Regions from separate parts of the Homo sapiens genome. Here region 1 is linked to region 2. Evidence: promoter capture Hi-C in 16 types of primary human blood cells and fetal thymus (Javierre and others, 2016). All regions are on one chromosome and are shown on one strand. The core of a region is centred on a gene start or on the middle of the fragment in contact, and the rest is flanking DNA. Distances in the headings are between cores, read along the strand shown.

Evidence for each region. Contacts are between HindIII fragments. The CHiCAGO score rates a contact against its expected background, and 5 or more counts as called.
Region 1: a fragment that was not itself captured here is called in contact with the fragment with the promoter of FMO1 in region 2 in 3 of 17 cell types (M2 macrophages, M1 macrophages and M0 macrophages); the score reaches 9.5 in M2 macrophages.

The regions. Positions count from the first base shown.
Region 1 is chr1:171,402,924-171,409,317 of GRCh38, forward strand. No RefSeq gene overlaps it. Among named protein-coding and RNA genes, the nearest start is that of PRRC2C, 79 kb to the right of the region's middle. RefSeq lists silencers at 2,187-2,481, 2,302-2,441. The HindIII fragment of the contact is 610 bases long and covers 3,065-3,674 here.
Region 2 is chr1:171,243,444-171,250,250 of GRCh38, forward strand. It overlaps FMO1 (flavin containing dimethylaniline monoxygenase 1), which reads left to right and starts at 5,051. Exons shown (of 9, transcript NM_001282693.2): 1 at 5,051-5,180. It overlaps FMO1-AS1 (FMO1 antisense RNA 1), which reads right to left. Exons shown (of 5, transcript XR_922278.4): 2 at 4,138-4,284. The HindIII fragment of the contact is 5,013 bases long and covers 2,748-6,807 here.

The DNA.
Region 1 (6,394 bases), core at 2,120-4,619, 160 kb after region 2:
TCGTGAAATTTTGCTCAAGTACCACTGCAGGAACATATCAGGAAAACTGAAAGAATTCACAGACCCTCTGAAAGAAGCAGTTTGCTGTTGCAAACTCTATGAGATAGTAGAAAAACTGTGAGTTCCCAACGTGTGAGGTCGGGGAAAGCCTGCCTCCAAACACACATCCCCAAACACTGGGGAACCTGAAAATCCAGATCACAGGAGAAGAATTTAACCTTACCTAGAGCTAAAACAGATTTAGGGAGCTGAGCAAAATATGAAAAGTAGAAAAAGCAGTGGGAAGAGCCTTGTAGGCACTCCCAGTCCCCAACTTGAGCCCAAGGAAACCGTCCCTGACTTAATCTCACAGGGGTCCTTGGGGAAGGCAGCCAGAGGAATTAGGGAAGGGTCAAAGGGTGAAAGAAGCTTCTAGCTGAACTTTGTAATAATTTTGACCCAGCACGAATTTTTGTGAGCAGAACTCAGGGGGTGAACAGGAAGTGCAGATAGCAGCTCAGAAGCTACAGCCAAAGGTGTAGGCAGACAGGGAGGGGCAAGGCCTGAAAGTTCTGCTACCCTTCTCAGCAGGGAAGCTTACGGCCTGGGGCAAGAGCTCAGCCCCGCATGCCAGCTGCCTGAATATAAACTCGGTGGTGTTGGCAGGGCACAGCAGGAATGAGACGGCCTTGCTGGCTGCGTGGAAGCTGGAGGAGGCTAACCACCGCTGGCTTTCTCCACTTCCCTGGCAACCTGGATGACACAGCAGAGGCAGCCATAATCCCCCTGGGAACATAATTCCATTGGCCTGAGAACCACACTCCCCATACCGGACAGTGGCCTCAGCAAGCCCCAGAGAAGAGTCTGAGCTCAGATCCATCTAACCCTGCCCCCATCTGATAGTTTTTCTCTACCTGCCCTGATAGCTGAAGACAAAAGACATAAATTCGTGGGAGCTCTGTGGCCTTGCCCATCACCTGAGAAGCCTGAATACTTATCCTGACCAACATAGGGCAAGCTTATATCCCCCTTCTACCACAGCTGGTGCTCTCTTGAAAGCACCACTTCCTAGCTGGAGGTCACCCAACTTAAGCCATTATAGCAACTCATAAGAAAACAACTCTGCTCCAAAGAAGGAGAAAACAACAGCTAATTCCACTCCCTACAACATGGCTAACCAGAGGTTCCTGAATCCTTCCACATGACAACTTCACTGCTAGGATTACCAGCATTCTAGAAAAACAGTGCACTAAACAAAAGTACAACCAACAATTCCCACAGAGTCCACTTCACTCCCCTGCCACCTTCACTGGGTATCCACAGCTGGGAGACCAAAGGACAGATCACATCACAGGACTCTTTGCAGACAATCCCCAGTACTAGCCCAGAGCCCAGTAGCTCTGCTGGGTGGCAGTAACAATCATTGCAGCCCAACTCTCAGGAAGCCCCCATCCCAGGAGAAGGGAGAGAACACCACAGCAAGGGATCACCTGGTGGAACAAAAGAACCTGAACAGCAGCCCTTGAGTTCCAGATTTTTCACCTGAAATAATCCTCCCAAATGAGAAGGAACAAGAAAAGTGATTCTGGTAATATGAAAAAACAAGGTTCTTTGACACCCCTAAAAGATCACACTAGCTCTCTAGCAATGGAACCAAACCAAGAGGAAACCTCTGAATTGCCAGATAAAGAATTCAGAAGGTTGATTATTAAGCTACTCAAGGAGTTACCAGAGAAAGTGTAGGGTCCAGTCCTACTGGGCCTGTGGGTTTTTCTCCTCATGTGAGGAGACAAGGGATCGTAGAAATAAAGACACAAGACAAAGAGATAGAAGAAAAGACAGCTGGGCCCGGGGGACCACTACCACCTAGACGCGGAGACCAGTAGTGCCCGCGAATGCCTGGCTGTGCTGTTATTTACTGGATACAAAGCAAGAGGGCAGGGTAAGGAGTGTGAGCCATCTCCAATGATAAGTAAGATCACACGAGTCACGTGTCCACCGGACCCGGGGGTGGGGGGGTGTCCCTTCCCTGTTTAGTAGCCAAGGCGGAGAAAGAGAGGGGACGGCTTATGTCATTATTTCTTCCACGCATTTCAAAGACTTTAGTACTTTCACTAATTCTGCTACTGCTATCTAGAAGGCAGAGCCAGGTGTACAAGGCGGAACATGAAAGTGGACCAGGAGCGTGACCGCTGAACCACAGCATCACAGGGAAACGGTTAGGACTCCGGATGGCTGAGGGTGAGACTGACTGTTGTCAGGCCTTCCACAAGAGGTGGTGCAGCAGAGTCTTCTCTAACTCCCCTGGGGGAAAGAAAGACTCCCTTTCCCGGTCGGCTAAGTAACGGGTGCCTTCCAAGGCACTGGCATTACCACTAGAACAAGGAGCCCTCTAGTGACCCTGTCTGGGCATGACAGATGGCTCATACTCTTGTCTTCCGGTCACTTCTGTGTCCCTTCAGTTCCTATCTCTGTATGGCCTGGTTTTTCCTAGGTTATAATTGTAGAACAAAGATTATTATAATATTGGAATAAAGAATAAAGCTACTAATGATTAATAACATTCATATGTAATCATATCCATAATCTATTTCTAGTATAACTATTCTTATTCTATATATTTTCTTTATTATACTGGAACAGCTTGTACCCTCGGTCTCTTGCTTTGGCTGGCACCTGGGTGGCTTGCCACCCACAGAAAGGTGAAAACCAACTTAAAGACATTTTAAAAACAATACAGGATATGGATTAAAAATTCTCCAGAAAAATAGATATCATAAAGAAAAAACACTCACAACTTCTGGAAATGAAAGACACACTTAGAGAAATACCAAATACACTGGAAAGTTTCAACAATAGACTAGAACAAGTAGAAAAAAGAACTTCAGAGCTTAAAGACAAGGCTTTCAAATTAACCCAATGAGACAAAGACAAAGACAAAATGAATTTTAAAAAAATGAACAAAGTTTCCAAGAAATTTGAGATTCTATTAAATGAGCAAACATAAGAATAATTTGTGTTCCTGAGGAAGAAGAGAAATCTAAAAGTTTGGAAGACATATTTGAGGGAATAATAATGAAAAAAAAGCTTCCTTGGCCCTGCTAGAGATCTAGACATTCAAATACAAGAAACTCAAGGAACACCTGGGAAAGTTATCATAAAAAGATCATCACCTAGGCACTTAATCATCAAGTCAAGACAAAGGAAATAATCTTAAGAGCTGTGAGACAAAAACATCAGGTAAAACATAAAGGAGAACCTATTGAATTAACAGCAGATTTCTCAGTAGAAACCCTATAAGCCAGAGGGATTGGGGTCCTATCTTTTTTTTCTTTCTTTCTTTTTAAGACGGAGTCTCACACTGAGGCCCAGGCTGGAGTGCAGTGGCATGATCTTGGCTCACTGTAACCTCTGCCTTCTGGGTTCAAGCGATTCTCCTGCCTCAGCCTCCCAAGTAGCTGGAACTACAGGCACGCACCACCATGCCCAGCTAATTTTTGTATTTTTGGTAGAGATGGGATTTCACCATGTTGGCCAGGATGGTCTCAAACTCTTGACCTCGTGTTCTGCCCCTCCTTGGCCTCCCAAAGTGCTAGGATTACAGGCGTGAGCCACTGTGCCCTGCCTGGGGTCCTATCTTTAGCCTCCTTAAACAAAATAATTATCAGGCAAGAACTTTGTATCCAGCAAAACTAAGCTTGATAAATGAAAGAGAGATAAACTCTTTTTCAGACAAATGCTGAGAGAATTCACCACTACCAAGCCAGCACTACAAGAAATGCCAAAAGGAGTTCTAAATCTTGAAACAAAACCTCAAAATATACCAAAATAGATCTTCCTCAAAGCATAAATCTCATAAGGCCTATAAAACACAGTGAAAACAAAACAAGGTATTCAGGTAACAACTAGCATGATGAATAGGATAGTACCTCACATCTCAGTAGAAATTTTGAATGTAAATGGCCTAAATGTTTCACTTAAAAGATAAAGAATGGCAGAATGGTTAAAAATCCACCAACCAAGAATCAGCTGCCTTCAACTGACTCACCTAACACACAAGGGCCCGCACTGAGTTAAGGTAAAGGGGTGGAAAAATATATTCCATGCTAATGGAAACCAAAATCAAGCCAGAGTAGCTATACTTATATCAGACAAAACAGACTTTAAAGTAATGACAATTTAAAAAAGACAAAGAGAACATTATATAATAATAATAGGATTAGTCCAATAGGAAAATATGACAATCCTAAATATATATGCATCTAACACTGGAGCTCCCAAATTTATGAAACAATTACTACTGGCTAGGCGTGGTGGCTCACACCTGTAATCCCAGTGCTTTGGTAGGCCGAGGCAGGCAGATCACTTGAGGCCAGGAGTTGAAGATCAGCCTGGCCATCATAGTGAAACCCTATCTCTACTAAAAATAGAAAAATTAGCTGGGTGTGGTGGTGCATGCCTATAATCCCAGCTACATGAGAGGTGAAGGTTGCATTGAGGCAAGATGGCACCACTGCACTTCAGCCTGGGTGACAGAGTAAGATTCTGTCTCAAAAAAAAAAAATAATAATAATAATAATAATAATTACTACTAGGTGAAAGAAATGATATAGATGGCAACACAATAATAGTGGGGGATTTCGATACTCTACTGACAGCACTAGACAGGTCATCAAGACAGAGAGTCAACAAAGAAATAATGAACTTAAACTATGCCCTAGAACGAATGCACTTAACAGATATTTACAGAGCATTCTACCCAACAACTACAGAATATACATTCTATTCTTCAGCACATGGAACATTCTCCAAGATAGACAATATGATAGACCACAAAACAAGTCTCAATAAATTTGAGAAAATTGAAATTATATCAAGTACTCTCCCAGGGCAATGTGAAATAAAATTGGAAATTAACTCCAAAAGGAACATTCAAAACTATACGAATACATGTAAATTAAATAATCTGCTCCTGAATGATCCCTGGGTCAACAATGAAATCAAAATGGAAATTAAAAAATTATTTGAACTGGGCCGGGCATGGTGGCTCACATCTGTAATCCCAGCACTTCGGGAGGCCGAAGTGGGTGGATCACCTGTGGTCGGGAACTTGAGACCAGCCTGACCAACACGGAGAAACCCTGTCTCTACTAAAAATACAAAATTTGCCAGGCATGGTGGTACATACCTGTAATCTCAGCTACTTGGGAAGCTGAGGCAGGAGAATCGCTTGAACCTGGGAGATGGAGGTTGCAGTGAGCCGAGATTGCACCATTGTACTCCAGCATGGATGACAGAGTGAAACTCTGTCGCCAAAAAAAAAATTTTTTTTGAACTGAATGATACTAGTGACAAAACCTATCATAACCTCAGGAATACAGCAAAAGCAATGCTACAAGGAAAGTTTATAGCATTAAATGCCTACCTCAAAATGTCTGAAAGAGCACAAAGAGACAATTAAAGGCCACACCTCAAGGAAATAGAGCAACAAGAATAAACCAAACCCAAACCCAGCAGAAGAAAAGAAATTACAAAGATCAGAGCAGAGCTAAATACAATTGAAACAAACAAACAAAAAAAGAAAACAAGAGATAAATGAAGCAAAAAGCAGGTTCTTTGAAAAGATAAACAAAATTCATAGACCATTAGAAAGATTACTCAAGAAAAGAAGAGAGAAGATTCGAATAAGCTCAATTAGAAACAAAATGGGATGTATTACAAACAATATGGCAGAAATACAAAAGATCATTCAAGGCTGCTGTGAACACCTTTACCCTCACAAACTAGAAAACCTAGAGGAGATGTATAAATTCCTGGAAATATACAACCCTCCTAGATTAAACTAGTAAGAAATAGAAACTCTGACCAGACCAATAACAAGCAGCAAGACTGAAATGGTAACTTAAAAATTACCAAAAAAAAAAGTGTCCAGGACCAGATGGATTCACAGCTGAATTCTATCAGACGTTCAAAAATAATTGGTACCAATCCTACTGAAACTACTCTAAGAGATAGAGCAAGAGGGAATCCTCCCTAAATCATTCTATAAAGTCAGTATAACCAGCCGGGCTTGGTGGCTCATGCCTGTAATCTCAGCACTTTGGGAGGCTGAGGCGGGTGGATCACGAGGTCAGGAGATCAAGACCATTCTAGCCAACATGGAGAAACCCCGTCTCTACTAAAAAATACAAAAATTATCCAGGTGTGATGGCGCATGCCTGTAATCCCAGCTACTCGGGAGGCTAAGGCAGGAGAATCACTTGAACCAGGGAGTCGGAGGTTGCAGTGAGCTGAGATCACGCCACTGCACTCCAGCCTGGTGACAGAGCAAGACTCCATCCAAAAAAAAAAGTCAGTATAACCATAATACCAAAATTAGGAAAGGACAAAAGAAAACTACAGACCAATATCCCTG
Region 2 (6,807 bases), core at 3,801-6,300:
TTTGTATTAATTACAAACCCCTTAGGCAGACTCAAGATAGAATTCTAAGTGATATGATAGATAAGATAGTTTCTAACGTACAGTTGCAGGCTTTGTCACAAATGTTTATCAAGCTATAAAGATGTTTAAAGAAATTCTTAAAAAGAAAAACATAAAAGTGGCTGTTTCCTCCAATCTTCAGATAGTGGATATGTGAGTCACTGAATCACCACTACTGACACTAGTAAACTCATTTCAAGCATAATAATTGGCCTTAAGTAGTCTTGGTTCTCCCTCCAACTCCACTTTCAGTGCTTTCATTCTAAAGGTGGGTTCTCAGGAAAAGAAAAATAATAACCTCGAGGTGTAAGGAACAGAGGGAATTACTTCCTTTAATGTGTGGCATTAAAAAACAAACACTCACATTTTAGAATGACAGGTATCTGTGGGGAAGATCTGTGTAGGTAGGGGACCTTTGATGCTTCGAGTGTAGCGGGAAGTTGTGAGTTAGGGAATTGTGTTTGTCTTAACTTTGTTTTTTGTAGAGAGAAAAACAATTTCACGGGGTGGGTCCAATTTTCAGACTAAGTAAATTCTGTGCTCTCTTTCAGCTCTAAAATTCTGTGGCTCTAACTGTGAATCAGAGAAGTGAAATAGAGTAATGGAAGTGAGACTGAAGAAGATGGTTGACAACTCAAGATGAATGAAAGACAAATCTAACACCTGAAACCATAAAAATACTAGACGATAACATCAGAAAAACTCTTCTAGACATTGACTTAAGCAAAGACTTCATGACCAAGAAGCCAAAAGCAAATGCAACAAAAACAAAGATAAATAGATTGGACTTAATTAAATTAAAAAGCTTCTGCACAACAAATGAAATAATTAGCAGAGTTAACGGACAACCCACAGAGTGGGAGAAAATCTTTGCAATCTATACATAAAACAAAAGACTAATATCCAGAATCTACAAGGAACTCAAACAAATCAGCAGGAAAAAACGAACAATCTCATCAAAAAGTGGGCTAAAGACATGAATAGACAATTCTCAAAAGAAGATATACAAATGGCCAACAAGCATATGGAAAAATGTTCAACATCACTAATGATCAGGGAAATGCAAATCAAAACCACAATGCAATACCACCTTACTCCTGCAAGAATGTCCATAATTTTAAAAATATAAAATTATAGATGTTGGCATGAATGTGGTGAAAAGGGAAAACTTTTACACTGCTGGTGTGAATTTAAAGTAGTACAACCACTATGGAAAACAGTGTGGAGATTCCTTAAAGAATTGAAAGTAGTTCTACCATTTGATTCAGCAATCCCACTACTGGGTATCTAACCAGAGGAAAAGAAGTCATTACACAAGAAAGATACTTGCACAAGCATGTTTACGTCACCACAATTTGCAATTGCCAAAATATAGAACCAGCTCAAATGCCCATCAATCAATGAGTGGATAATAATTTATGATACATATATATATATACACACACACACACACCATGGAACACTACTCAACCATAAAAAAAGGAACAAAATAATGGCATTTGCAGCAACCTGGATGGAGTTAGAGACCATTATTCTAAGTAAAGTAACCCAGGAATGGAAAACCAAACATTGTATGTTCTCACTCATAAGTGGGAGCTAAGCTATGAGAATGCAAAGGCATAAGAATGATACGATGGACTTTGGGGACTTAGGGGAAAGGGCAGGAGGGAGGTGAGGCATAAAAGACTACACATTGCGTACAGTGTACACTGCTTGGGTGATGAGTGCACCAAAATCTCGCAAATCACCACTAAAGAACTTTTTCATGTAACCAAACACCACCTGCTCCCTAAAAACCTATCGAAATAAAAAATATACTTTTTAAAAAAGAAGATGATTGAGAAATACAATGAAGGAGCTAAGAAACATCCCTCTAGTGCATTGATCAATAAAGACTTGGTATGATGCATTAACAACCAATCCCCAAACCTCGATACCTTGAAATAAAACAAAGATTATTTCATGTATGTGTCCATTAGTGTAGGCCCTGCTCATCACATTCACCAGGTATTCGGACTAATAGAAGAGCCATCTTGAAAGTTGCTGATTACCACACTGAAGGAAAAGAAAGTTCTATGGAATCTTACTGGCAATTAAGTGCTCTAGCCCAGAAAGGACACCTTACTCTAGCTCACAGTTCTTTGACCAGAACGAGTCACATTCCTCCCAACCAACCGCTAGAGGGCCAAGAAGAACAATCCTACCATTCATCTTCCCTGAAGGTAGGAGGTCCAGAATATTTCCTAAAGAGCATTATTGTCTACCAATTCAGCTTCTTAGGGTCTAGGTCCACTCGAATAAGGGGACTACATATCCTTCCTTATCCCATGGCCTAGAGTATAACTGACTAACAAAAATCCCTAAAAATAGCAGAAACTGAAGTTGCCACCGAAGGCCGGTCTTCTCATTTTTAATTACTACAAGTCTCTTGCTGATTATGGAAAATGAGATGATATAATAAAATCATCATCTTATTCTCAACCAACAGTTTAAAGTCCTGTGATTCTCCTTATGTTAGCAGCATGCCTGGTAAGGCCCAGGGACAAGTTAAGTCCCACCATTAGTGTACCAAATCCCAGTACTTACATACTTACCTTGATGTGTATATGCTGCACACCAAGGTAAATTACAAATCAAACATATTCTGATTTTTGAAAACATACTTGAACTAATAGTCATTTTAAAGGCTTACTCTCTGGGTATAATTAAGCTTGAAATCATCCAAATATTATTATTTTCATAGCTGCAGCAAAGCAGCTGAATTTCACAGAGCTAACAATGCTGTCTCTGTGCTGAATACTTAATAAGCCAGAAATGAGGCAAAAGGTGAGCCCAATGAGCAAGCAGTATACTCAGTGATACACAGGACCTCCAGGTCAAAGGGTTATACCATGTTGAAAATCAAGGAAAAAGACATATTCTTTCAGAAATTTCTCTCTGCTTCAGTCCACCAACCTCTCATGGAATTTATTCTCTGTACCTGTGGGAGTCATTTCAGTGTTATGAACCAGCAATCAAGACACCTTATCTGGTCCAACAATGACAGCATCATCATCATCATCATTATCATCATTACAATCATACACAGTATTTACTATATATACACAAATCTCTTGACATAGATTATCTCATCTAATCCCCACCACAACTATCTGATGCAGATGTTATTATGCCTGTTTTATTTATTTTTTAGAATTTTTTATTTTATTTATTTCAATAGCTTTTGGGGGAGCAGGTGGTGTTTTGTTACCTGGATAAGTTCTTTAATGGTGATTTGTGGGTTTTGGTGCACCCATCATCTGAGCAGTGTACACTATACCCAATGTGTAGTCTTTTATGCATCACCCCCCACTCCAACACTTACCCCCAAGTCCCCAAAGTCCATTGTATCATTTTTATGCCTTTGTATTCTCATAGCCTAGCTCCAACTTATGAGTGAGAACATAGAATGTTCAGTTTTCCACTCCCAAGTTACTTCACTTAGGATAATGGTCTGCAACTCCATCCAGGTTGCTGTGAATGCCATTATTTCATCCCTTTTTATGGCTGAGTAGTATTCCATGGTATGTATATACCACGAATTATTTATCCACTCATTGATTGATGGGCATTTTGGCTGGTTTCATTTTTTGCAATTGCAAATTGTGCTGCTATAAACAAGTGTGTTCAAGTATCTTTTTTGTATAATGACTCCTTTTCCTCATTTTCAAGACAGCATCAGCTGCGGTAGTATAGGGAGAATGCAAGATTGCCCTAAGGTCTCCTGGATAAGTATTCGTGTTTCTCAGGCTAATAGTCAAAACTATTACAAAGTTCAGCTGGAAGTTTCCTTCTCCCTGTGGTCCTTCCTCAATTTCACTGGCAGCCCTCCTCAAGGACCCCTGTGAGATAAAGTCAGAAATGACTTCCCTGGGCACCAAGAGTACCTACAGGGCTCTTCCCACTGCTTCTACTTTTATATTTCGTTTTGCTCTCTAAATTCATCCCAGCTCTAGGTAAGGTTAAATCCTTCTCCTGTGATCTGGATTTTTAGGTTCCCTAGTGGGTTTGCGTGTTTGGAGGCAGATTTTTTCCCCCACTCACACTTTGGGCACTCACAGTTTTTCAGCTGTCTCATGGAGTTTGCAGCGGCAAGCCACTTCTTTCAAAGGTCCTGTGAATTCTTTTGGTTTTCCTGGTATGTTCATGCAGTACTTCTTGGAGGAAAATTTCACTGTGTGAGTCTCCACATGCTGTTCTGTCTGTCTGCGTGGAAACTGCAAGTTAGTCCTGCCTCCTATCCACCATTTTCCAACAATCTGTCGTTAACCATTTCAAAGTATAGAATTCAGTGGCATTTAGTACATTCATAATGCTGTGTAACCACAACCTCTATCCAGTTTCAAAACACTTTCATCACACCCAAAAGAAAACTCCATACTCATTAGCAATCCTTCCCCATTCCCTTCTTTCCCCAGCCCCTGGCAGCCACTCGATCATGCCTATTTTAAATTGAGGAAACTAAAGCTGAGAAAAGTTATACAATTTTTCCAACATGACTCTGATAATAGCTGGTGAACGCAATACTCGAACCCAGGACTTGTGATTCCCAAGATCAGACTCCTCCCATATACCTGTCTTTTATTTCCCAAGTGCTTGGGCAATCAGCTGCACTTAAAAAGCCTTTACAAATTGAGTTTACTAATGTGAGTAATATATGATTTTTTAAAAATAATAATTGTCCCTAAAGGTGAAATGGATCAAAGCCCTTAAAAGTGAATCTGTGGTGTAGTAACTGTTAACATAATTGTCTTATTTTATTCTCATCCCCTTAAAGAATAAAACTGATGAACAAGTGAGGATGCTGGTGTAACTCCCTAACTTAGTTTATAGTCTGTAAGCAGAAGAGTGAGTCTAAAGTACATATCACCAGACAGTGTTTCTCCTAGCATTTCGCTGTTGCATTAATCAACAAGTTAAAATATAAACAACGGCTAACCTTGGGTTTCAAATTTAACATTCCTTATCTCTTAGACCAGGTTTATCCACTGTGCTGGGGACTCCCAAGCCAGCACTGGCTCATACTGATTCATTTTGATCTCTGCTAATACCAGAGTCCTGCGTGGCAGAGCCATTGGCACCAGAAATTACAAGTACGTAAAGTAAGTAACCAGATATAATCTCTGATTTCTTTGGATGAGGAAAGTGGGGTCTGGAGTTTTCCTGTTTTGTTATTGTGCTCCAGGGAAGAACCACCTTATCAGAAAGCAGCTTTCTCTGTCCAACCCTGGAGGAGCTATAAAGCTACTCCTTGGCCCAAAGTATAGGAGTAGTAAATGTTTGGATACTTATAATGGGACAATATCATTGATTCAACCACTTAATAATCTACCCAGCAGTATACTTACCTGTCTTCCATGTACACAGGTAAGTATACTGTTGGGTAGATTATTAAGTGGTTGAATCAAATGGGAAAAACTTGGATTTCTAATGCAAGAGGAAAAGTCTCTTTTTTTTTTTAGTGCTTCCATCAGCAGCTTCTAACATTGTCTGAGATCATAGTTTTTGAAGGGTGACTACCAAATGTTGGCATTTGGCACAAGTGGGAAGCAAAAGGCAAGCCCCTTTAGAATTTGACTAATCTGTTCTGTCATGTCATCTTTTTTTCTGTTGTTAAAAGTGTTTCGTGCTTCATTCTATGTATTATGTCAAAATTTATTGATTTCCATGTGATTGGCACATCTTTTTTACTAATCCTGCTCCAGTTAAATTCACAAGATCATAAACATCAAGGGTTTGAAAATCATTTTTAGATATTCAGGTCTATGCCATCTGTTCTGCAGATGGAGAAACTGAGTCCTTGGTTATTAGAGTTTCCCCTGCATCCTAGGGAATCTGCTATGGCCTTGTAACTGGCACAGAGGACCTAAAGCCTGGGAGAATTTTTATTTGCTTGTTGTGGTTAGGAACATTTGAGTAAATGAGGAGCTGCTGCTAGAGGACAGAAATCCCAGAGTATGGCCCTCCTTGGACCCAAGTTTCTTACCAGCTGTGCTCCTTTGTTCCCAGGGGCTAAGTAGGCACCTTCACCCACCCCAACTGCCATCCAGCTGAATCTCTCTCTGATTACTCCTGAAATGTCACAACCCACTTGAGGATAGGGTATCATTGTGCAGTCTGTGCCAACCAGTATTCTGAAGTATTTTCATGCACTAAGGTGTAGGAGTGTGTGTGTGTGTGTATGTGTGTGTGTGAGAGAGAGAGACAGAGGGAGTAGGGAAGGAGGAGAAGATGGGGAATGCATAAATAGAGGGCTGGATACAAATCTGACAGTGCCAATGGCTTCCTAGTAAATGCATAGGTGAGTCACACTGGAAACAGTTAAACATTGGCTAATTGATACAATGCTAGCCTCAAATATAGTATAATATGCATTTTCTTGACATCAACAAATAAAATCTCCGGGTCAATAAAATAAACTCGGAAAATAAAACTCTTGCCCAGAAGTTTTCAACTTTCTAGGTTCAAGGAGCCCTTGGTGTGCAATTTCTTCAAGGTGCCCCCAGACCATAGTTTCTCCTATTAAGTAGACAAAAACTTAATAACTATTTATGTTCTAACAACTTTGTAGTTTTTTGAACAAGTAATATACAAACTAAAAGAAAAATAATATTTTTATTTCATTCTTAATCCCAATTACTTAATAATAAGGTTTATGTGCCTGCTGAGCACTGCACAACTTCTCAAACCTTGGAATCAGATCAGACATGAACCCTTCATTTCTATTCT